7 separate regions of the Homo sapiens genome follow, and all the other regions are linked to region 1. The links are contacts of gene promoters, found by promoter capture Hi-C in blood cells and fetal thymus (Javierre and others, 2016). All regions are on one chromosome and are shown on one strand. Each heading gives the region's core, a stretch centred on a gene start or on the middle of the fragment in contact. The rest is flanking DNA. Distances are from core to core; before and after follow the strand shown.

Region 1 (2,897 bases), core at 167-2,666:
TATGCCGATTATTTCATTTAATTTTCAAACCTACACAAAGGCAGTAGTCTGTTCTACAGGTGAACTAACTGAGGCTCGAGGACACATATCTAGTAAACATGAGATTAAACTCCAGTGATGCCTCTAGGTCTGGGCATTTCTTTACACTGTTCTGCTTTCCTGTTCTAATGCCCATATGGTCTCCAAGACTACTGCCTCTGGGCTAAGCATTTTGTTAACTTAAGATACTTCATCTGCAAAATGGGGATAATTATACTTCATAATTCCTAATAGTAGTAAAGGTAACAATAAATTTTAAGTGATTAACAATGAAACAACCATAGCAGGACAGCATTATTATTTTTGAATTTACCTCACTAAATTGTAAATTTCATTTATGCCGTTTACCTAACGCTCCTGGACTGAGATTATCCAGGGCAGCAGTTCTTAAATTTTTTGGACTCAGGGCCTCTCTATAATGTTAAAGAATTACTGTGACCTCCAAAGAGCTTATGTTTATGTGGGTTACACCTATCACTACTGCATTGAAATGAAAACTGAGAAATGTTTAAAAACAACAAACGCAAGCTCCCTTAGCTGCCAGTGATGACGTCGTACACAAAGCGTATCCTCCAGGAAACGGTATACTAGTGAGAGAAGGAACGTGAGAAAGACAGACAAGGTGTCCGTATTATTATGAAAATTGTTCTGAGGTCATCGGGATTTCCAGAGGTCCCTAGACCACACTTTATGAGAACTGCTGCCTTAGGGTAAAGATGGGGTGCCAGGAGGTTGGCGATCAGTAGCGTCTGATGAACGAACCATGGGAGCCTGGGGTTGTTCAGATGAGGAAACCAAGAGTTAGGCCGAAATAAGCAGCGCCGGAGCTCCACTGTATTCACGGCCGCTACTGAGGCTTCCCAGCAGCCTCGGCCCTTAGCAGCTGTCCCCTCATCCGCCCCGAGGTACCCTCTTCCCTGGTCCGGTTTTTCAGGGGCCCTCTCTGGCGCTCTCCGCCAGGCTACGGGCGTCCCGGGTGCCCGGAGACAGGCCCCGCCCCGCCGCCGGTCCTCGAACTCCTGGCTGCCAGGCAACCCTGGCGCGTAGCCCGGGCGTCACTGCTCCACCCCGTCAGGCTGAACCATTCCCTTCAGAGACTTTCTCAAGAGGGAAGGAGAAAAGGGAATTTGATGGAACGCCTGAAAGCTGCTCTGCTCCCGTTTTCTCTCCTTAATTTGAACGAACACTTCTTTTCTTCTTCTAGCCAACTGTCTCCTGAAGGGAAACGCAGCGCCTCGCCTCTCCCGCCGGAATGTCCCCCACACCAGTCCAGGGCCGCGAGTGGTTCGGCTCGTCAGGCGGGGCCGCCGGTCGGCGCGGGTTGGCTCTGAGGCGGGGGCGCGCGCCCGACGTGCGCGTAGGGGGCGGGGCCGCGCGCAGAGGGCGGGGAGGTGGGCAAGATGGCGCTTGCCGAGTGATTCTCCTCGAATACCTCCTGCCGGCGCGGAGACACCGGGGCGGGGGTCCTGCCGCAACTACCTCCCTTCCTCCTCTCCCCCGCCCCCGGAGCCTTCATCCTTCCCTTCCCCCCCCACCTCGAGGGGCGGGCCTGGTTCCCGGGACACCATGTCGGACTCTGAGGAGGAGAGCCAGGACCGGCAACTGAAAATCGTCGTGCTGGGGGACGGCGCCTCCGGGAAGGTCAGTCCTCGAGCAGGCCCGCCGTCCCAGGCCTGCAGGAACCCCGGCGGTCCCCGGCCTCCTCCCCGCCGCCCGGCGTCGCCTCGTTACCCCGAGCCCTCGGGCTTCTAGGCCCGGGCCCTTCTGGTTGTGTGGCCTGAGGCCGGACACGAAGTGGGCGCTTGGTGAAGGCCGACGAGAGCTGTCCAGCTCCCCCTTAAAAAAGAGTCACTTCCTAACTCCCCGCCTGGATTGCGAACTCCTGCAAGACTCGGGCCAGCCTTTCAGCTTCCCGCCTCTCAGGACTGGCAGGGATTTGCCAAGGCATCTTAGCTCCTCTTACTTGTAGTCTGGGTCACACTTACTCCTCCCCTCCCACCCCCTTTACCGTTTCTGATGCTTCTACTGCATCGTGAGCTCCCAGGAGCGTAGCTCTGGAATCAGTATTCCCCGGGTGAGAATTGGGGCTCTGCCACTTAGTCGTCGGGTCATTGGAGGGCAAATTGCTAATCAGTTTAAGCTTCATCTGTAAGATGGGTATTGAAAAGGGCCGCCGCAAAGGGAGAAATGTGAAAATACATATTAAATGTGAAAATACACATAAAACCTTTAGAGCACAGTGTCCACTCAGTACACTCTAGTTGCTATTTTAATATCATACCTGTTCATCACCTCTGTTTCCAGCTCAGCACTCGATACAAGCAGTCAGTCAACAAGTGTTTATGGAGCTCCTGTTACGGGTAGGATGCTGAGGGTAGAGCTGCTTGCGTGACAAAAGGGATCCCCTGTTCGAATGAATGAATGCGGGCGTGAGAATATCAGGCAGCGTCAGTCTTATTATCTCCTAGGCAGGGGCTCCTACCCCAAGGCTGTGGAACTCCTGAAATGGAGTAAATACTGCCCGGTACGTGCTCTGGGGAGAGGGTCCATAAGATCTCAGAGGGGTCTATGATCCCTCCACCAGCAAATAGTGAAGAGCCTCTACCCGGATGCCTTCTTTCCCATGCTTCTGTCAAAGGCGCCAACACTTTCTGGGAATATTGCTAAAGTTTATCACCCCTGTACTCCCCTTCCTTATCCCAACCATAGTCTAAAGAAACCCAGGCTTTTATTTCCTGTTTAAGGCTTCACATTTCCCTGTTGCTGGTTGCATTTCGGACCCTGGTTTCTCTGGTGACGACTTCTCTTTGCATCCTCCCTGACAGTTGGCACTGCCCAGATACCTGCTTCTGCCTTTG
Region 2 (2,897 bases), core at 150-2,649, 2.3 Mb before region 1:
TGACAGAAAACCCGCTCGTAGCAGAAAGTGCTGGTGTCTCGTGCTTATTCATCTTGGCAATGACCGTTTCTGGACCCATCCTCTCAACTTCCAATGGGAAGCACCTGTGACTGCCTGAGAGCCTTCTCTGACTTCCAATACCTGTTCTGCCCCCACACGGGGCAGCCTGGAAGTGTCAGGAATTAATATCCTTCCTGGGAGTGCCCTCAACCAATGACTGGCAGGAATGAAGGATAGACACCTCAGCTTCCCCATGTCTTTGATTAATTAACTCTGAGAAATTTGCTACACTGTCAGCCAAAGGTCCCCGCAGGATTAAGCTCCAGTTGCCCTCAGTGACAACTTGCTTGGTAATGTGTCCTTTATGGGCTGCTTCCCTCCCTCGTCTCATCCTCCCTTCCTCTGGTGTGCTGTGGCATTTCAATTACTGCGACTCTTGCATGAAGTGAGCTATGATGGAAGAAAGAGAAAGAGATGCACTGACTTACACGCTATTATAGCAACTGAGAGATGTCATAAAATGGTAATCATAAGGAATGTGGAATTAGCTGTTGCTTTCCACTACCATCATGTGCTAAGGGAAGAAAACAACAGGATCAGATCAACTACCAACTATCAACTCGGGTGTAGTGTGAAGTCAGAAGACCTCAATGGCCCTCAACATTGAAGGAGCCCCTCACCCCCTGCAGCCAGAGGGCAGACTGTGCGAAAATCCTACAAGCACAGCATGTTCATTATGATCACAGCAGAATAATCAAGAAACTTTGGTCTCTATTCCCAGCCCTGGCAGATATCCTTCATTAAAGTCAAGGCCTTTGTGGGGAGAGAGTAAGACCCTGAGATGGGATGGGGACATCTTTGCCTATGAAATGGCACACCTTGAACCCCTAGATTCCCATGACCCCCCAGAGAGTTGGCAGGAGTCGCTTTCTCCCCCTCTTACTGAAGGATAGCAGCTCCCTTTGCCTGGAAACTGTGCACAGCCTTGCATTGCAAGAGGGTGCTTGCCTCTTCAGAACCTGTCTCCCTTCACTGCTTCTAGACAAATAACTAAGCTTCAGTATCGGCACCATGCTCCTGGGAAATACTGTCCCTTATTTTGGAGAAAAGGGATTGTTAACCAAAAGAATTGTAGGATCTGCCTAAATATATGTCAGGAATTGGGAAAGCACGCATGAGAATGGTGTTGGACTGATAATGGTGGTACGTAATATACAAGGCTGGATAAGAAAGAATGAGTTGATAAAAGGGTACTCTCTCATGAGTCAAAGTTTAATGACCTGGCAAGGCACTTAGAGCTGGTCCTAATACAACTGTAGGAATGGCTCATTGAAATCTGGAGAAAAGAAGGCCTGAAATAAATGAGATAAGGTTGGCTGGACACAGTGGCTCATGCCTGTAATCCCAACACTTTAGGAGGCCAAGGAAGAAGGATTGCTTGAGGCCAGGAATTCGAGACCAGCCTTGGCAACATAGCAAGACCACATCTCTACAAAAAATAAGAATTTAAAATATTAGCTGGGCATGGTGACTTGTGCCTGTAGTCCTAGCTACTCAGGAGACTGAGGAAGGAAGATCACATGAGCCTAAGAATTTGAGGCTGCAGTGAGCCATGATGGGACCACTGTGCTCCAGCCTGGGAGAAGGTAGGAACTTGTCTCTAATAAATAAATAAATAAATGTTTTTAAAAACTAGATAAGATTTATTTACTACTGTGCTTTGGCTCAGGGAGATAAGCTTACTCCAAAGAATGACATAGAATAACACAGCTCGCTGACAATGTTTCCAAGAGAGTCCAAGAAGACAGTCTTCATTAAAACAGTAAAGAATGTGATGGTGATGGGGGTACTGGCTTCACGGAAAAACTCCGAAGTGGTTTATATTCTGAAGGCCAGGATTGATGGTAGTGATATCATTATGGGACTGGGATTCCTAGTACCAAGAAGCAAAATAGGATTCCAGAATAGTGGAGGCTTGGTGGCAGCAAGGCAGCCATGACTACTATAATGGCATAAAGGCAGCATGGCAAACAGGGGCCTGACAGGCACGAATCTGAGACTGTGGTTAATATATCCCATGGTTCCTAAGAGCTCTTAGATGTGCAGTTGATAAGGATATTGCTTGACCTTTACAATCAAAAGTGATCAGGAGCAAGAGAGCCAAATGTTGATGATGTCAGCTACCACAATGGACGATCACAGTCTGATACCCAGTTCCCAGACTGGTGTCTGGAACCTCAGGCCCAGATTTAATCACTTAAGGGAGAGGAAGTCCTGTAAGCCACAGCAAGCATATAACATAGTGATTCTCCCAACCCTTCCCCAAAGGGACCCATACCCATTTGTTGGAGTTCCTGTGCATTTGGAGGAATGGAATACTCAGATCTTCTGATGGCTTGATCACAGAGTCTGAGCTGTCACTGCTACAAGACCCAAAACACAATCATGGGCCCCCTCAGTTAAATAAGGACTTACTGAGGCTAGATGACAAATGGACTCCAGAACTAAGTTTATCAGCACCCATGCTGTGATCATGTCCCTAGCCCCCTCTCACATTTGTTTTTTGACCTGTGGAGTAAGAGCCTTTATAGTAGGAAAGATGAAGTAAACACCCCTGAAGGTGACCACCATTCCAGAGCAATACCACATCCTAGGTTCCTATGGTTTGAATGTTCCCTCCAAACTTATGATGAGATTCAATTGTCACAGTAACCATATTAAGGGGTGGGGCCTTTAAGAGGCAGAGCCTTCATGAAGGGATTAATGGTGTTATCACAGGAGTGGGTTGGTTATTGCAGGAGTCCTGGTAAAAATGATGAGTTTGGCACACTTCTCTCCCTGCCTCATGCACATGTTTCTTCACTTTGCTATGCCTTCTGCCATGGAATGGCCCCACC
Region 3 (2,897 bases), core at 299-2,798, 2.2 Mb before region 1:
TTGCGCCACTGCAATCTCAGCCTGGGCTACAAAGCCAGATTCCGTCTCAAAAAAATAAATAAAAGCAAAGGTAATAAACATCCAAAATACATAACTTCTTAATTATTTTACTACATGTTGCTATTATTTATGCTCTTGGGGATATTTATATCTATTTTATTTTGGGTCTACGTACCAAAAGCCAAAAACCAAATTTATATATTGACATTCATCAAAGCTAAGAAATTCTGCTCTTCAAAAAACACCACTAAGAAAATGAGCAATCCACAAATTGGGATGTACTTGCAATACATGTATCTGACAAAGGCATGTATGTAAAAAACAGGGTTGTCCAATCTTGTGGCTTCCCTGGGCCACATTGGAATAACCCACACATAAAAAACACTAACACTAACATAAGACTAACACTAACTTCAGCCACACATAAAAAGCACTAGCATTAGCTGATGAGCTTAAAAAAAAAAAAGAAAAAGTTCTGTGTGTTACATGTAGTTAGACAGGCATGAGTGCAGCAGGAGAGGGCTCTTCCCCCACCCACTAGGAATGTCGGGTGTTGGTTTGGCACTTATTACATTGCCTCTTTAAAAGTGATAAATTGGCAGCTGACACCAGGGAGAGGCCATTTCCTTATGGTCCACACCTGCGGCACTAAACGGTTAATTGAATGCAGAGACCAGGGAAAAGCAACTTCCAGGGCATGTACATTAAGAGACAAAATGGTGGAGTATGACCTTCCAGGGGCACTCCCCTGGAAAATGGAAGAAAGCCTCAGATGGCATGCATACAGCTTCCTAAACACATTGTGCATGCTCACCTCCCAAGTACATTAAATAAAAGCAGTTGTTATGCTTGTGTGCATGGCCGGCTGGAGGCCCAGAGAGTCCCCTTTCCACTCGGATGGTCTCCCAGTCGACCGGGCATGGGCTGCATGGTAGCTCTCTTCCAGGATTCTACGGCTTGGGGCAACAAATCATGCCAGGCTCTCTCTCTGCTATATCCCGAAGTCCAACACCCTGCGAGTCAGCCCCCGAGGACCACTCAGCTTCCTTTTCCCGTCAATTTCACCTTGTGTCTGTCACCACAGGGGGAGAATTTGGCATTCCTTGGAAGCTTAATGGGATGCCGTGAGCTTAAGCCTTTCCAGGAGCTTACTCATCAGTCTGCCCTTAGTCATCCTCAAACAGATGTATGGTGGTATTGTGGTGAACACTTACTGGACACTCTGCCAGGTAACTGGAGTGGTACTTACACTCTTGTCTAATTGGCTATCCCTTTCACCCTGACATTTCATCAACCAGAAAAAGAAAAACCACAACACCTCCCCCGCCAAAAAAAAAAAAAGAAGAAGAAAAGCCTCTTATGGATCTTTTGACTCTCAAGTTAACATAGACGTCATTGGAGTCCCACAAGAAGTGCCTAACAGATTCAAAGTCCATGACCAAATAGCTGCAGAATTTAAATCCATATTTCCACAGGTAACTATTAATAAAAATGTGGCTTGGATAAATTACATCTATTATAATCAGCAACAGTTTATTAATTACACCAAGGATGCTATCAAAGGAATAGCTGACCAATTAAGGCCTACTAGCCAAATGACTTGGGAAAACAGAATAGCTCTAGACATGTTATTAGCCAAAAAAGGTAGGGTTTGTGTTATAATTAAAACCCAATATTGCACCTTCATCCCAAACAACACTGCTCCCAATGGAAGCATAACAAAGGCCTTGCAGGGATTTACTGCTTTATCCAATGCATTAACTAAAAATTCTGAAGTCAATGACCCTATTTCAGAATGGCTAGGAAAGTGGTTTGGTAAATATAAAGGAAACATAGCCTCAATTCTTATTTCTCTTGCAATCGTACTAGACGAACTCGTTAGGTGATGTGTCATACCATGCATCCATAGGCAAATACAAAAGATTGTACAAACAGCACTTACTAAAGCCTCCCTTAGTTCTCCTCCACCTTATTCAAGTAAGCTTTTCCTTTTAGAAGATCAAAACAAACGGCAAAGCCAAGACATGTTAAAGAGTTTGAAGAGAAAAATCATAAGAAAATTTAAAAGGGAGGAGTTGTAAGATACAATGAATTTCTCTGAGTTTCTCTTCAAAAATGTAGCCTGCTAACTTCCTTGTCTTTTGTTCTCAAACTCAACTTTCCTGTTCCTCCTTGTCCCTAGTTACTGTAAAACAGCCTACCCCTTTTCTGTCATCCCTAATCAATAACTCACATCTATTCCCTTGGTTACCTGCACCCATTGTGTCCCTGAAACTGCACGTCTCACATGCTCCACCTCTGTAGCTCACGTCCCCCTCCCCTTTTATATTTAGAAAAATATGTACAAGTAGCCAATAGGGTCAGCTCAGATTGTGCAGTCTGACCCTACCCATGGGGGAGGGACACAGAAGTAGGAATTGCGTTAAGGATATAAAAACCCCCCAGTCTCCTTTGTTCTCTGTGCTCTTGCGATCTTAGTTGATGCAAGTGGCACCCTTCTGCAGAAGTCAATTGCCTTGCTGACAGGATTAAACTTTTGCCTGACTGCTGGTTTTACTTCACGGCACCGAGCATTTATTCCTCGAGCTTTTTATATCCAACAAACTCAAAAATAAGAAAAACAACCACATCTTAAAATTGGCAAAATAGTTAAACAAATGCCTCACCAAAGAAGATATTCCATTCCTAGGTATTTACCAAAGGAAAAATGAAAATACATCTATGCAAAGATTTGTGCCCATGTTTGTAGAAGCTTAATTCGTAACTCAAAACAGTAAACAATGCAAATGTCCAACAACAATATATTAATAACTTGTAACATCATCATATAATAGAGTATTATTTAGCAATACAAAAAAATGACAAATCTTTTAAAAATATGCTGAATGAAAGAAGCT
Region 4 (2,897 bases), core at 262-2,761, 2.2 Mb before region 1:
GTATTCAACTAGAACAGGAGTTTTGGCTGGGCGCGGTGGCTCATGCCTGTAATCCCAGCACTTTGGGAGGCCGAGGCAGGCGGATCATCTGAGGTCAGGAGTTCGAGACCAGCTTGGTTAACATGGTGAAACCCCATTTCTACTAAAAATACAAAAAATTAATGGGGTGTGGTGTCAGGTGCCAGTAATACCAGCTACTTGGGAGGCTGAGGCAGGAGAATTGCTCGAACCTGGGAGGCAGAGGTTGCAGTGAGCTGAGATGGCGCCATTGCACTGCAACTTGGGCAGCAAGAGCAAAACTCTGCCTCAAAAAAAAAAAAAAAAAAAAAAAAAATAGGAGTTTTGTGACCGAGAAGTTAAGACATAGTGAAGGTTCAACTCCTTGAGTGGTTCTGTTTTTGCACTGCCTGTGTGGTAGCTAAGACTTGAATTTGAAAGTAATAGTTAGAGGGGTTAGATAGGATCTAAGCCTGAAGGCTGGTAAATCCAGGATAGGAACAATGCAAGAAAATCTTTATATACTATAGTAGTAGTTGGTCATTTAGTCCTAAATAATTTTTATTTGTGGTACTTATTCACCTCATTTTTATATACTAGTATTTTGCTTCCCATATTAATTTCTACTTGTCTTATAAATGTTAAGTATAAATTAATCTTAATTTGAAGAAAATGAATTATGGAACAAAATATAGGAAGTGAAAACTAGAGGGAGGTAGCTTTCCTCTATAAATTATGTGACTTAACATAAAAAATCAATGATGTGGAAAAGTCTTCTACAAGCCTGGTTACACATCACAGAAATACCTTACAGTTGCTTCATCTGTTTTGATGCATAAAGTGTTTTGTAGTGGCAGGCCCACTGCTTTTTTTTTCGTGATTCCTAGTGAACTGATGGGAATTTGTGCAAACAATGATTGTAGGTATATGACAAATTAATTTATCATTAAAAACCATAACCGACTGGGTGCGGTGGCTCGTGCCTGTAATCCCAGCACTTTGGGAGGCCGAGGCAGACGGATCACAAGGTCAGGAGATCGAGACCATCCTGGCTAACACGGTGAAACCCCGTCTCTACTAAAAACACAAAAAATTAGCCAGGCATGGTGGCATGCGCCTGTAGTCCCAGCTACTAGGGAGGCTGAGGCAGGAGAATAGTGTGAACGTGGGAGGCGGAGCTTGCAGTGAGCCAAGATCGCGTCACTGCACTCCAGCCTGGGCGACAGAGTGAGACTCTGTCTCAAAAAAAAAAAAACCCAAAAATCCCATAACGTTGATAATCTTCTAAGATGATAGAAATGAGTTGATAAGGAGAAAAGAAGGTTTTATGATTAAAATGAAAGTTTCATGAGTAATAATTTTGTAAGGAAAAAAGTTATGATTACATATAATTTCACTAATATATAAACGTAAAATGGAGAAATAATCCCAAATAAATACAATATAATAAAAATTGGGGGACATTTTATTTAAAGTGATGAGTGTGCTATGTATTCATAAGTTGATTTCAGTTTGGGATCTCAAGTGCAGTTCTCACATACCCAGTACAGTGTTAACTCTGTTTCTTTGTTTTTATGGGTTAAGAATTAAAAGTACCAATAGCGGTACTACATTCATGCCACTTAGCAATGAACAATCCTATTTCCTCCAAAAGAATGATACATCATTATGACATAGGGCTAGAGAATTAAAAAAAAAAAAAAAACACGATGCATTTGATATTTCATAATCATTCTTTAGTATTTCCAGAGAAGTAAGCTACAATATTTCCTATTCTGCAGGCACCAAGCATAACTCAGTTTTTGATTCAGAGTGTTGGAAAACAAATCTATCCAGTTTTTTCCTTGAATGTATCAATTTTTGTTCTGGCATGTAATGGTTAAAAGTTTGATACAGGCCAGAAACAATAAAAAATGGACAAAATATATAAAACAATGTTTTCCAAGATATTGGATATCAGGCAATGAAGGACAGTGAACCTTGATCAATAGGAAACAAAGTGAGTCCTATGATTGCCTCAGTTTATTGCCTTGGGAGAATTTCTAAGCCATAGTACAGGGAGAGGGGAACATATGCAGCCTAGTGGAATCCCTCTGTTGATAGAGCCTGGAGCCTGGTGAAACCAGTGCAGCCAGAGTTTGCTAGAAGGGAGAGAGCTGCATAGAGAGAGAATTCTAGTGATCTGGAATGAATCTCTCCTGATTCTTCAGGTAAGTATTGATCACTGTATGCATGTGAGGAAATGACCTGAGGCCAAGGAAAGGATCATCCAAAAATATTACAGTACAGTCTTGGATCACATAAAGACATTTTGTTCAATGATAGACTTCATAAGATTATAATGGAGCTGGAAAATTCCTACCACCTAGTGATGTCATAGATCTCAATGATGATGTCTTATGTGTCTGTGGTGATGCTGGTCTACTGTCTTGCTGATACATTTATCCTTATTTTATCTTTATTTTTTTTGAGATGAGGTCTCACTCTGTTGCCCAGGGTGGAGTAGAGTAGTGCAATCTTGGCTCACTGCAGCCTCGACCTTCTGGGCTCTGGTGATCCTCCCACCTCAGCCTCCCAAGTAGCTGGGACTACAGGCACGGGTCAACACACCCGGCTAATTTTTTGTATTTTTTGTAGAGACAGGATTTTGCCATGTTGTCCAGGCTGGTTTCAAACTTGTGGGCTCAAGCGATCCAGCTACCTCGGCCTCCCAAAGTGCTTATTACAGGTGTGAGCCATTGCACCTGCCCTATTGTTATTTTAGAGTATACTTTTTCTACCTATGTATATTTTCAAAAGTTAACCGTAAAACAACTTCAGACAGATCCTTCAAAGTATTACAGACGAAGGCATTGTTATCATAGATGACAGCTTTGTGCATGTTATTGCCCTTGAAGACC
Region 5 (2,897 bases), core at 104-2,603, 2.2 Mb before region 1:
GACACAGAGGATGTACTCTCAGCAAATTTCAAGTACATAATACAGTATTATTAGCTATAGTCACCATACTGTACCTTATATCCCCAGAACGTACTCATCTTAGAACTGAAAGTTAGTGTTCTTTTTTCAGCATCTCCCCATTTTCTCCATCCCCTGCCCCAACAACCACCTTTCATATTCTCTGCTTCTGTGAGTTCTACTTTAGATTCCATATATAGTGAGATCATACATTATTTATCTCTCTGTCTCTGGCTTATTTCACTTAGCTGTCTTCCAGGTTCATCTATGTTGTTGCAAATGACAGGATTTCCTTTTTTATGACTGAATAATATTTTATTGTATATATCACATTTTCTTTACTCATTTGTGGACAAGCACTCAGGTTGGCTCCATATCTTGGCTATTATGAATAATGCTGCATTGAACATGGGAGTGCAGATATCTCTTAGAGATCCTAATTTTATTTACTTTGAACATATACTCAGGAATGGGATTGCTGGAACTTATGAAAATTACATTTTTAATTTTTTGAGGAATTTCCATACTGTTTTCCATAATGGCTGTACCAATTCCTTTCTAATGATATTTTATTTTGGTCTGAATACAGAATTAATAACAGAAAAGCCTACTAAATAAGCCTTACAGATGCCTAGGTAGGGCTTATATTCTGTGTTCTTTATATTAACTTATTAAATTATCACAGGTAGCCAGGTGCAGTGGCTTGTGCCTATAATCTCAGCAACTCAGGATGCTGAGTCAGGAGGATCGCTTGAAGCCAGGACTTTAAGACCAGCTTGGCCAACATAGTGAGACCCCGTCTCTAAAAAATAAAAAAGTAACTGGGTGTGGTGCACACCACACCTGTAGTTCCAGCTATTCGGAAGGCTGAGGCCAGCAGGAGGATCACTTGAGCCCAGGAGTTTGAGGTTGCAGTGAGCTATGATCATGCCACTGCACTGCAGCCTGGGTGTCAGAGCAAGACCCTGTCTCAAAAAAATTCTCACAAGAACTCTGTGAAGTAGTTAATATTATTAGCCCTGTTTTACAGATGAAGAAACTGAGGTACAAAGAAATGTAATGACTTGCTGGTAGAATGGATTTACACCTAGGCAATCTTGCCCTAGAGTCAGTGCTTTTAACTACTGTGCTAGGTTAGCTGGATATAGATTCTACCTGTAATTTAGAGTCTCTTTATATAGTTACTATAGTTAATTTGACTGTCAGTTTGTGGCATGAAACTAATCTTTACCTTAATGTGTTATTAGATCTAAAAGAATTTCTAATAGTCTAATGAGAATATATGCAAAATTCCCTGTATGTCTTTTAATATATTATTTTTCTTAACTCATGTTAGGGCATTACAGTCTTCCCTTGGTATCCTCCTATTTTGTGGGAGATTGTTTTCAGGACACCCATGAATACCAAACTCCATAGATGCTCAAGTCCCTCAGATAAAATAGCATAGTATTTGCATGTAACTTACACATATCTTCCCATACACTTTAAATCATCTTTAGATTACTTATAATACATAATACAGTGAAAATGCTATGTATGTAGTTGTTATATTGTTTTTTGTTGTTGTTGTTTATTTTTATTTTTTTCAACATTTTCTTTCTTTTTTTTTTTTTTTTTTTTTGAGATGGAGTCTTGCTTTGTTGCCCAGGCTGGAGTGCAGTGGCATGATCTCGGCTCACTGCAACCTCTGCCTCCTGGGTTCAAGTGATTCTCCTGTCTCAGCCTCCCGAGTAGCTGGGACTACAGGTGCACACCACCACTCCCTGCTAATTTTTGTGTTTTTAGTAGAGATGGGGTTTCACCATGTTGGTCAGGCTGGTCTCGAACTCCTGACCTCAGGTAATCCACTCACCTCAGCCTCTCAAAGTGCTGGGATTACAGGTGTGAGCCACCATGCCCAGCCTTTTTCAATCCACAGTTGGTTGAATCTGTGGTTTCTGCATCCCCACGGAGGCTGACTGTGTTTACTTTTTGCCATTAAAAAAATAATATCTAGAAGCTGGAAACCATCATTCTCAGCAAACTGTCGCAAGGACAAAAAAACCAAACACCGCATGTTCTCACTCATAGTGGGAATTGAACAATGAGAACAACATGGACGTGGGAAGGGGAACATCACACACCGGGGCCTGTTGTGGGGTGGGGGGAGGGGGAGGGATAGCATTGGGAGATATACCTAATGTTAGATGACGGGTTAATGGGTGCAGCACACCAACATGGCACATGTATACATATGTAACAAACCTGCACGTTGTGCACATGTACCTAAAACTTAAAGTATAATAATAATAATAATAAAAAATATTTAGCATTAATGGTTTCTTTTGATTTTGTACCCTGCTTCTACTAAGGCTATTTTTAAGTTTGCCTTTTTTTTTTTTTCCAAAAAATGATACATGATAGTGTTTGCAGAGATTAGCCACCAATAGATTTTATTGTAATCTTGTGGGGCATTTCTTATGATTTAAAAAAAAATCTATAATATGTATTTAACCAAGTATGTCCTGCCTGTGTTTTTTGTGTGGCTTAAGAGCCAAGCATCACTTTTACATTTTTAAATAGTTGGAAAAAATCAAAAGAAGAATAGTATTTTGTGACATGTGAAAAATTATATGAAATTTGAATTTCAGTGTTTATAAAGTTTTATGGAAATACAGCTACAGTCATTCATTTACATGTTGTCTATGACTACTTTTGTGCTACAACTGCTGAGGTAAATAATTGCTACAGACCACATGGCCTGCAAAAGTTAAAATATTTATTACCTGTCCTTTTATAGAAAAGTTGCCAATTCTTGCTCTAGATTATTTACTTATGTATTGCAGTTAACTGTTCATTGTCTTATTTACCTTCACTGAAATGGAAACTCCATAAAGGCA
Region 6 (2,897 bases), core at 258-2,757, 2.1 Mb before region 1:
TCTGCATGTTGGCCAGACTGGTCTCGAACTGCCAACCTCAGGTGATCCACCCGCCATGACCTCCCAAAGTGCTGGGATTACAGGGTGAGCCACCGTACCTGGCCCAGAAGTTCTTTTAAATGCTAGGAAGAAATGCTATTTTTAAAAATTAGGAAATGGGTACTTTGGGCTTTAAGTAGGTATTTATAAGTAGATCTCTGTATAATTTAGTTTCATTTTTGTTTTCTCTCAACGATGCTGAGGGTTCTCAGGCCAAGTAATTCTTTGTTGTGGTGAGTTGTATGTTGTAGGATGCTTAGCAGCACCCCTGGCCTCTCACTCATATGTGGGAGCCTAAAAAGCTGATCTTATGTAAGAAAAGAGTAGAATGATGGTTATCAAAGGCTGAGAAGGGAGGAGGTAGAGGAGGAGGATGAAGAGAGGTTCGTTAATGGTATAGAAATATAGTTAGAAGGAGTATGTTCTAGTGTTTGATAGCACAGTAGGGTTACTATAGTTAACAATAACTTACTGTATATTTCAAAATAGCTAGAAGAGAAGATTTAAAATGTCTGCAACACAAATGATAAATGTTTGAGGTAATAGATATTCTAAATACCCTGATTTGATCATTATACATTCTATTCATGTATCAAAATACCACATGTACCCCATAAATACATACAATTATTATGTATCAATAAAAAAGTTTAAAAAATCACAGAATATTGTAAAGGTACAAAAGAAAAGAATCACAAGTTTTGTTTTTCCCATCTAAAATGATAGCATGTAACCAGCATGTTTTTTTCCTGCAGACATTTCTATACCTGTCATTTTGTCAGAGAAATAAAGCAAGGAAGATTTTTTTTTTAATGGGAATTCTCCCATTATAGTACCCATGGCTTTCTTCGGGATAACACGAGATAACATATGTAAATATTGTGTTCCTGCAGTAGACACTTAGTAAACATTTCCTAGAGATTTCCCAGTTTCACAGGCCTTGTCTCATTCAAACCCTCATTGTCTTACCTTTAGATGACCACACCTGTCTTCTTGCCTCATGCAACCCATCTTCCCTGCAGCCGCCACCCGACTTCCTACCAGCCCTCAACCACCTGACCTTTCCAACTGCACACAGCAGGGCTTTCTGGGATCAGCAGTCTGACTTGCTGTCATCCAGTTTAAAGCATGGCAAGTAAGATGTATGTGAAAACATCTGTTTTGGACTTGGGTCCATAAAGAACCAACAGCAACCACAAAAGTGAGGTAGGCGAGGGTAAACAAGGACACTTCTCCAAACATGACTGTTATTCCCACTCTGATAGAGGAGTTATTCCTCAGATGAGCCAGAGAATTAGGAAAGGCCCTGAGAAGAGAAAGCTGGGCCATCACCAAGTAGGTTAAAAGGAGAATTTCCCTATCTCAATCCACATGCCAGGAATACAAAAGCTTAACAGGATTGACTAATAAGGAAAAATGATAATGTTAAAAAATTTAAAAGGCACCCAGCAATATTATACCACTGTTGTTAGTTGTTTTGGTGTTGAGAAGATGAATGTAGGATAAAGTTACAGATGCAAATGACACAAAAATGAAGGCAAAGCTTTTTAAATTTCTAAGCCAAATTTCATTTTTAAAACCCTACATATTTATTTTGGAAAGGCCTCCAAAGCCAAGATTTTCAAGACCTTTCTGGAAGGACTGTGGCCTGGCTCCAACTCCCCTGTCCCATGAAGTCCAATCTCATCCTTCTCTTGGGGCCAATTTTTTTTTTGAGACAGGGTCTCACCCTGTCTCCCAGGCTGGAGTGCAGTGGCGTGATCATGGCTCATTGCAGCCTCAAACTCCCAGGCTTAAGCAATCCTCTTGCCTCAGCCTCCCAAGTAGCTGGGACTAGAGGTATGTACCACCATGCCCAGCTAATTTTTTAAAATTTTTGTGGAGATGGGGTCTCGCTAGGTTGCACAGGGTGGTCTCAAACTTCTGGGCCCAAGCTATCCTTCCGTCTCAGCCTCCCAAAGTGCTGGGATGATAGGTGTGAGCCACTGTGCCTGGCCCAACTCTGATTCTCCCCTTTTTACTTCCTCAAGTTAAACTGTCATCAAGCTCTGTGGATTCCACCAATTCTGGCTCCAATCTTACTTTAATTAATTCCTTCTTCCCATCTTCCCATTTCTACTGCCAGGCCCTGAGCCCATCCCCTCACTCCTGGCTTTCTGTGCCAGCCTTTGGACTTACCTTCTGCTTGTAGAACTGCCTTGGCATTCTTATCTCAAGCCTGGCTAGAAGCTCTGAGCCTTATGGTTACAAACATGCAAGAAATCAAACATCACAGTCTACACTGCTCCTTTCAAAGGTCGTTAACATCTATGCACCAGTGAGTATTGATTCTTTGTAGCTCTCCCTTATATCCTAGCTGGACTGAAACTCCTGAGGCAGGGTCCTATGTGCCCCTCTGTATACATGGCTTCCAATTCTCCACAACACCCTGGCTTAGATACGCAGTTGGCTTTTCACAATCAAGCAGAAAACATTGACCACTTGGTTGCTGAGTTATCAATTGATGCATTATAGTTTTGAGAATCTTAGAACTTTTTCTGAAATATACTATGCTTTAAAGTTAAGAATTTGATAGCATTGGCATTAACAGATGTATTTTAGGTGAGTTTTTCTACCCTCCTAAAGTTGCCAGTAATTCTTCCCTAGTTTAAATCTAGCAATCATGTGGAAAATTTCCAAATAGCAGAGTACTTACTATGACTAGAGACTTGAAATACAGTATCTCCTAGATTAATTTAATCTGTAGTCACTACTCAGTCTTAAAAAACTATGCCATTATGCCATTGTGGTATGAGAGTTGGGCAGTTATCAAATCCCTTTAAATAGCTTAAGAACTTAGTCAAAACTCCCTTAATTTA
Region 7 (2,897 bases), core at 191-2,690, 2.0 Mb after region 1:
TATTAGGGCATAAGATGTGGCCACTCACTGTCCATAAGTACTGGGGGACAGAAAGACAGAAATAACTGAAAAAAAAATGACTTATATTCAAGGTCATGAAGTTCACAACTACATTTCTAATTTAGCTTTAAGATTAATCAAGCATTTTAATTTTTTCCACTAAAATATGCCTAACTTAGACTTTAACCCATCACCCAAACTGTAATTGTGCCCCATTTTATTTTTACTTTCTTTTTATGTCTCATTGACCAATGTGACTTTGTAATCACTTTATTGACCCTAAAGAATTCAAAGCACCTCATAAACAGCCTCTATTTATTCTCCCTCACCTGTCACTATATCTATGAAACAATTCATCCCCTTATATACATGTCGTGAGCATCAACACATTCCAATTCCATGGAGTCATATTTCACAAGCTTATGGCCCAATTTTCTAAAGATGCAATTAACAGGCTGAGTGACCTTTACCTTCATCTATAATCTTAAAAAAAAAATACTAAGTAAGAAAAAGAGAAAGTCAGGTCTTGAATGTTATGATTCAGGGTCATGAAAGGTCCAAGATCAAATCTGCTGTGTTACTTAAAGTGTCTTCACAGGATGAATATGAAGGGAAAGACGACGTAACTATCCTATAAGAAACATGACACCGAACCTCATTCAGCCAGGTTTTTTTTGTTGTTTTTTTTTTTTTTTTTCTTTTTCTTGAGACGGAGTCTTGCTCTGTCGCCCAGGCTGGAGTGCAGTGGCGCGATCTCGGCTCACTGCAAGCTCCGCCTCCTGGGTTCACTCCATTCTCCTGCCTCAGCCTCCTCCTCAGTAGCTGGGATTACAGGCGCCCGCCACCACGCCCGGCTAATTTTTATGTATTTTTTAGTAGAGACGGGGTTTCACCGTGTTAGCCAGGATGGTCTTGATCTCCTGACCTCATGATCTGCCCGCCTCGGCCTCCCAAAGTGCTGTTATTACAGGCATGAGCCACAGCGCGCAGCCCCAATTTTTTTTTCCCATCTGAACCTGAAGATTAAAAGAGTTAAACTGCATAAAAGCACTTTATAAATTTAAACCATGTATAAGTTGTCAGAATTTTTACTACAAATTACCAACCATGATACTGATTGAGTTAATTCAAGCATTAAGCTGTTAAGATGATCACATAAGTGCAGTCAGCAAGTCCTCACAAACTGTATATCCTGGATTTCCAGTTTAGTGCTTTATTCACCAGATTATGCAGCATTCCAGATATGAAAATGAATTCCATGGATGAGAAGTAATCATTCAGCCATGGGCCAGGCTATCATCTTTCCCTGCACACCTGCCTGGAAGAGATTCAACAGGAAAGGCCTCACTTACCTGAGATAAAGGCCAGTCCAGGAAGGACTGTGATGCCAGGTGCTTTACCCATAAACAGTACAGCACATGGCTGCATTAAAGTTGTAAGGCACGCAAGCCTTACTGGCCTATTTTATTCATTCCAGTTTCCAGGGCTAACACTCCAAACTCCGATTCAGAGGTATACCTTTGTTTTCATTCGAACATAACCAAAGAAAGAAAGCTCATGATACAGCAGTTTCATTACATTATGCAAATTTTTATGCTCCCATTTCCTCTTGTGTTTTACAGGTCGTACTTTACTTACAGGGAAGGAGAATACAGCTCAGAAAAGAGAGAGTAATCAAAGGGGGAGCATGAAAACAAACAAAGGAAGCAGTCTGCACTCAATCACAGCGATGTGATTGGAAGGGTGATAAGGGATAAAGGGCCACAAACTCACTGTCACAATTGCCATTATGTGACATCACTGATCATAGTTAGCTTTAGTTAAGCTATGTCTCTTTGGCTCAAGAATAAAGAGCATGCACTGCAAATAATAAATAATTCCTGTAAATTTACTTTTAATTTACATGCAATAAAGTGTCCTCCTCCTTTTCTTCTTCTTCTCTTCTTCTTCTTCTTCCTCTTCTTCTCCTTCTTCTTCTTCTTCTTCCCTTCTTCTTCTTCTTCTTCTTCTTCTTCTTCTTCTTCTTCTTCTTCTTCTTCTTCTTCTTCTTCTCCTTCTCCTTCTTCTCCTTCTTTCTCCTTCTCCTCCTCCTCCTCCTTCTCTTTCTTTTTGTCTTTCTTCTTCCTTCTTCTTCTTGAGGCAGGGTCTTACTTTGTCACTGGGGCTGGAATACAATGGCGTGTTCTCAACTCACTGCAACCTCCACTTCCTGGGCTCAACCAATTCTCCCACCCCAGTAGCTGGGACTAACAGGTGCATGCCTTTATGCCTGGCTAATTTTGCATTTTTTTGTAGAGACAGCATTTCCCCATGTTGCCCAGGCTGGTCTTGAACTCCTATGCTCTAGCAATCCTCCATCCTCAGCCTCTCTAAGTGCTGGGATTACAGGCGTGAGCCACCGTGCCCAGCCTCCTTCTTCTGATACACAGTTTTTGTTCATTTGTTTGAAATAGAAGCTTGCTCTGTTGCTCAAGCTGGAGTGCAGTGGCACAATCATGGCTCAATGTAGTCTCACACTCCTGGGTTCAAGTGATTCTCTTGACTTAGCCTCTCATGTAGCTTGGACTACAGGCATATGCCAATCATAATTAGCCATGCCTGGCTAATTTTTTGTTTGTTTGTTTGTTTGTATTTTAGTAGCTATGAGGTCTTGTTATGTTGCATAAGATGATTTCCAACTGGGTTTAAGGGATCCTCCCACGTCAGTCTCCCAAAGTGCTGGGATTACAGGCATGAGCCACTGCACCCAGACTGATATACAGTTTTATGAGATTTGGCAAATGGCTAGAGTCATGTAGCTACTTTCCCAATCAGACTACAGTGTAACTCCAGTGATACACAACAAAGACTATTTCTTTATATTCAAATACTCCACCTCCACCTATCCTGAACCTCTG

What was found. Contacts are between HindIII fragments. The CHiCAGO score rates a contact against its expected background, and 5 or more counts as called.
Region 2: a fragment that was not itself captured here is called in contact with the fragment with the promoter of RAB28 in region 1 in 5 of 17 cell types (naive CD8 T cells, activated CD4 T cells, non-activated CD4 T cells and 2 more); the score reaches 10.4 in naive CD8 T cells.
Region 3: a fragment that was not itself captured here is called in contact with the fragment with the promoter of RAB28 in region 1 in 5 of 17 cell types (total CD8 T cells, non-activated CD4 T cells, naive CD4 T cells and 2 more); the score reaches 9.4 in total CD8 T cells.
Region 4: a fragment that was not itself captured here is called in contact with the fragment with the promoter of RAB28 in region 1 in 8 of 17 cell types (non-activated CD4 T cells, total CD4 T cells, naive B cells and 5 more); the score reaches 14.4 in non-activated CD4 T cells.
Region 5: a contact is called between a fragment that was not itself captured here and the fragment with the promoter of RAB28 in region 1, in 9 of 17 cell types (naive CD8 T cells, naive CD4 T cells, total CD4 T cells and 6 more). The highest score is 18.2, in naive CD8 T cells.
Region 6: a fragment that was not itself captured here is called in contact with the fragment with the promoter of RAB28 in region 1 in 1 of 17 cell types (naive CD4 T cells); the score reaches 6.7 in naive CD4 T cells.
Region 7: a fragment that was not itself captured here is called in contact with the fragment with the promoter of RAB28 in region 1 in 1 of 17 cell types (total CD4 T cells); the score reaches 8.9 in total CD4 T cells.

Annotation. Positions count from the first base shown.
Region 1 is chr4:13,482,859-13,485,755 of GRCh38, reverse strand. RAB28 (RAB28, member RAS oncogene family) reads left to right here and starts at 1,416. Exons shown (of 7, transcript NM_001017979.3): 1 at 1,416-1,680. The coding sequence starts at 1,606. LOC105374495 (a long non-coding RNA gene) reads right to left here and starts at 1,307. Exons shown (of 3, transcript XR_925413.1): 1 at 802-1,307. RefSeq lists silencers at 955-1,014, 977-1,271, 1,265-1,884 and enhancers at 1,155-1,274, 534-1,441, 1,237-1,531. The HindIII fragment of the contact is 2,971 bases long and covers 1-2,181 here.
Region 2 is chr4:15,746,454-15,749,350 of GRCh38, reverse strand. It overlaps a transcript of BST1 not described here. Among named protein-coding and RNA genes, the nearest start is that of CD38, 30 kb to the left of the region's middle. The HindIII fragment of the contact is 683 bases long and covers 1,058-1,740 here.
Region 3 is chr4:15,693,646-15,696,542 of GRCh38, reverse strand. No RefSeq gene overlaps it. Among named protein-coding and RNA genes, the nearest start is that of BST1, 8.0 kb to the left of the region's middle. RefSeq lists an enhancer at 812-1,408. The HindIII fragment of the contact is 872 bases long and covers 1,113-1,984 here.
Region 4 is chr4:15,673,010-15,675,906 of GRCh38, reverse strand. It overlaps a transcript of FBXL5 not described here and a transcript of FAM200B not described here. Among named protein-coding and RNA genes, the nearest start is that of FAM200B, 7.4 kb to the left of the region's middle. The HindIII fragment of the contact is 8,677 bases long and covers 1-2,897 here.
Region 5 is chr4:15,645,965-15,648,861 of GRCh38, reverse strand. All of the region lies in intron 1 of FBXL5 (F-box and leucine rich repeat protein 5), which reads left to right. It also overlaps a transcript of FAM200B not described here. Among named protein-coding and RNA genes, the nearest start is that of FBXL5, 7.9 kb to the left of the region's middle. RefSeq lists silencers at 105-204, 1,473-1,698. The HindIII fragment of the contact is 8,302 bases long and covers 1-2,897 here.
Region 6 is chr4:15,544,966-15,547,862 of GRCh38, reverse strand. All of the region lies in intron 17 of CC2D2A (coiled-coil and C2 domain containing 2A), which reads right to left. Among named protein-coding and RNA genes, the nearest start is that of CC2D2A, 77 kb to the right of the region's middle. The HindIII fragment of the contact is 154 bases long and covers 1,431-1,584 here.
Region 7 is chr4:11,454,106-11,457,002 of GRCh38, reverse strand. No RefSeq gene overlaps it. Among named protein-coding and RNA genes, the nearest start is that of HS3ST1, 27 kb to the right of the region's middle. The HindIII fragment of the contact is 2,037 bases long and covers 422-2,458 here.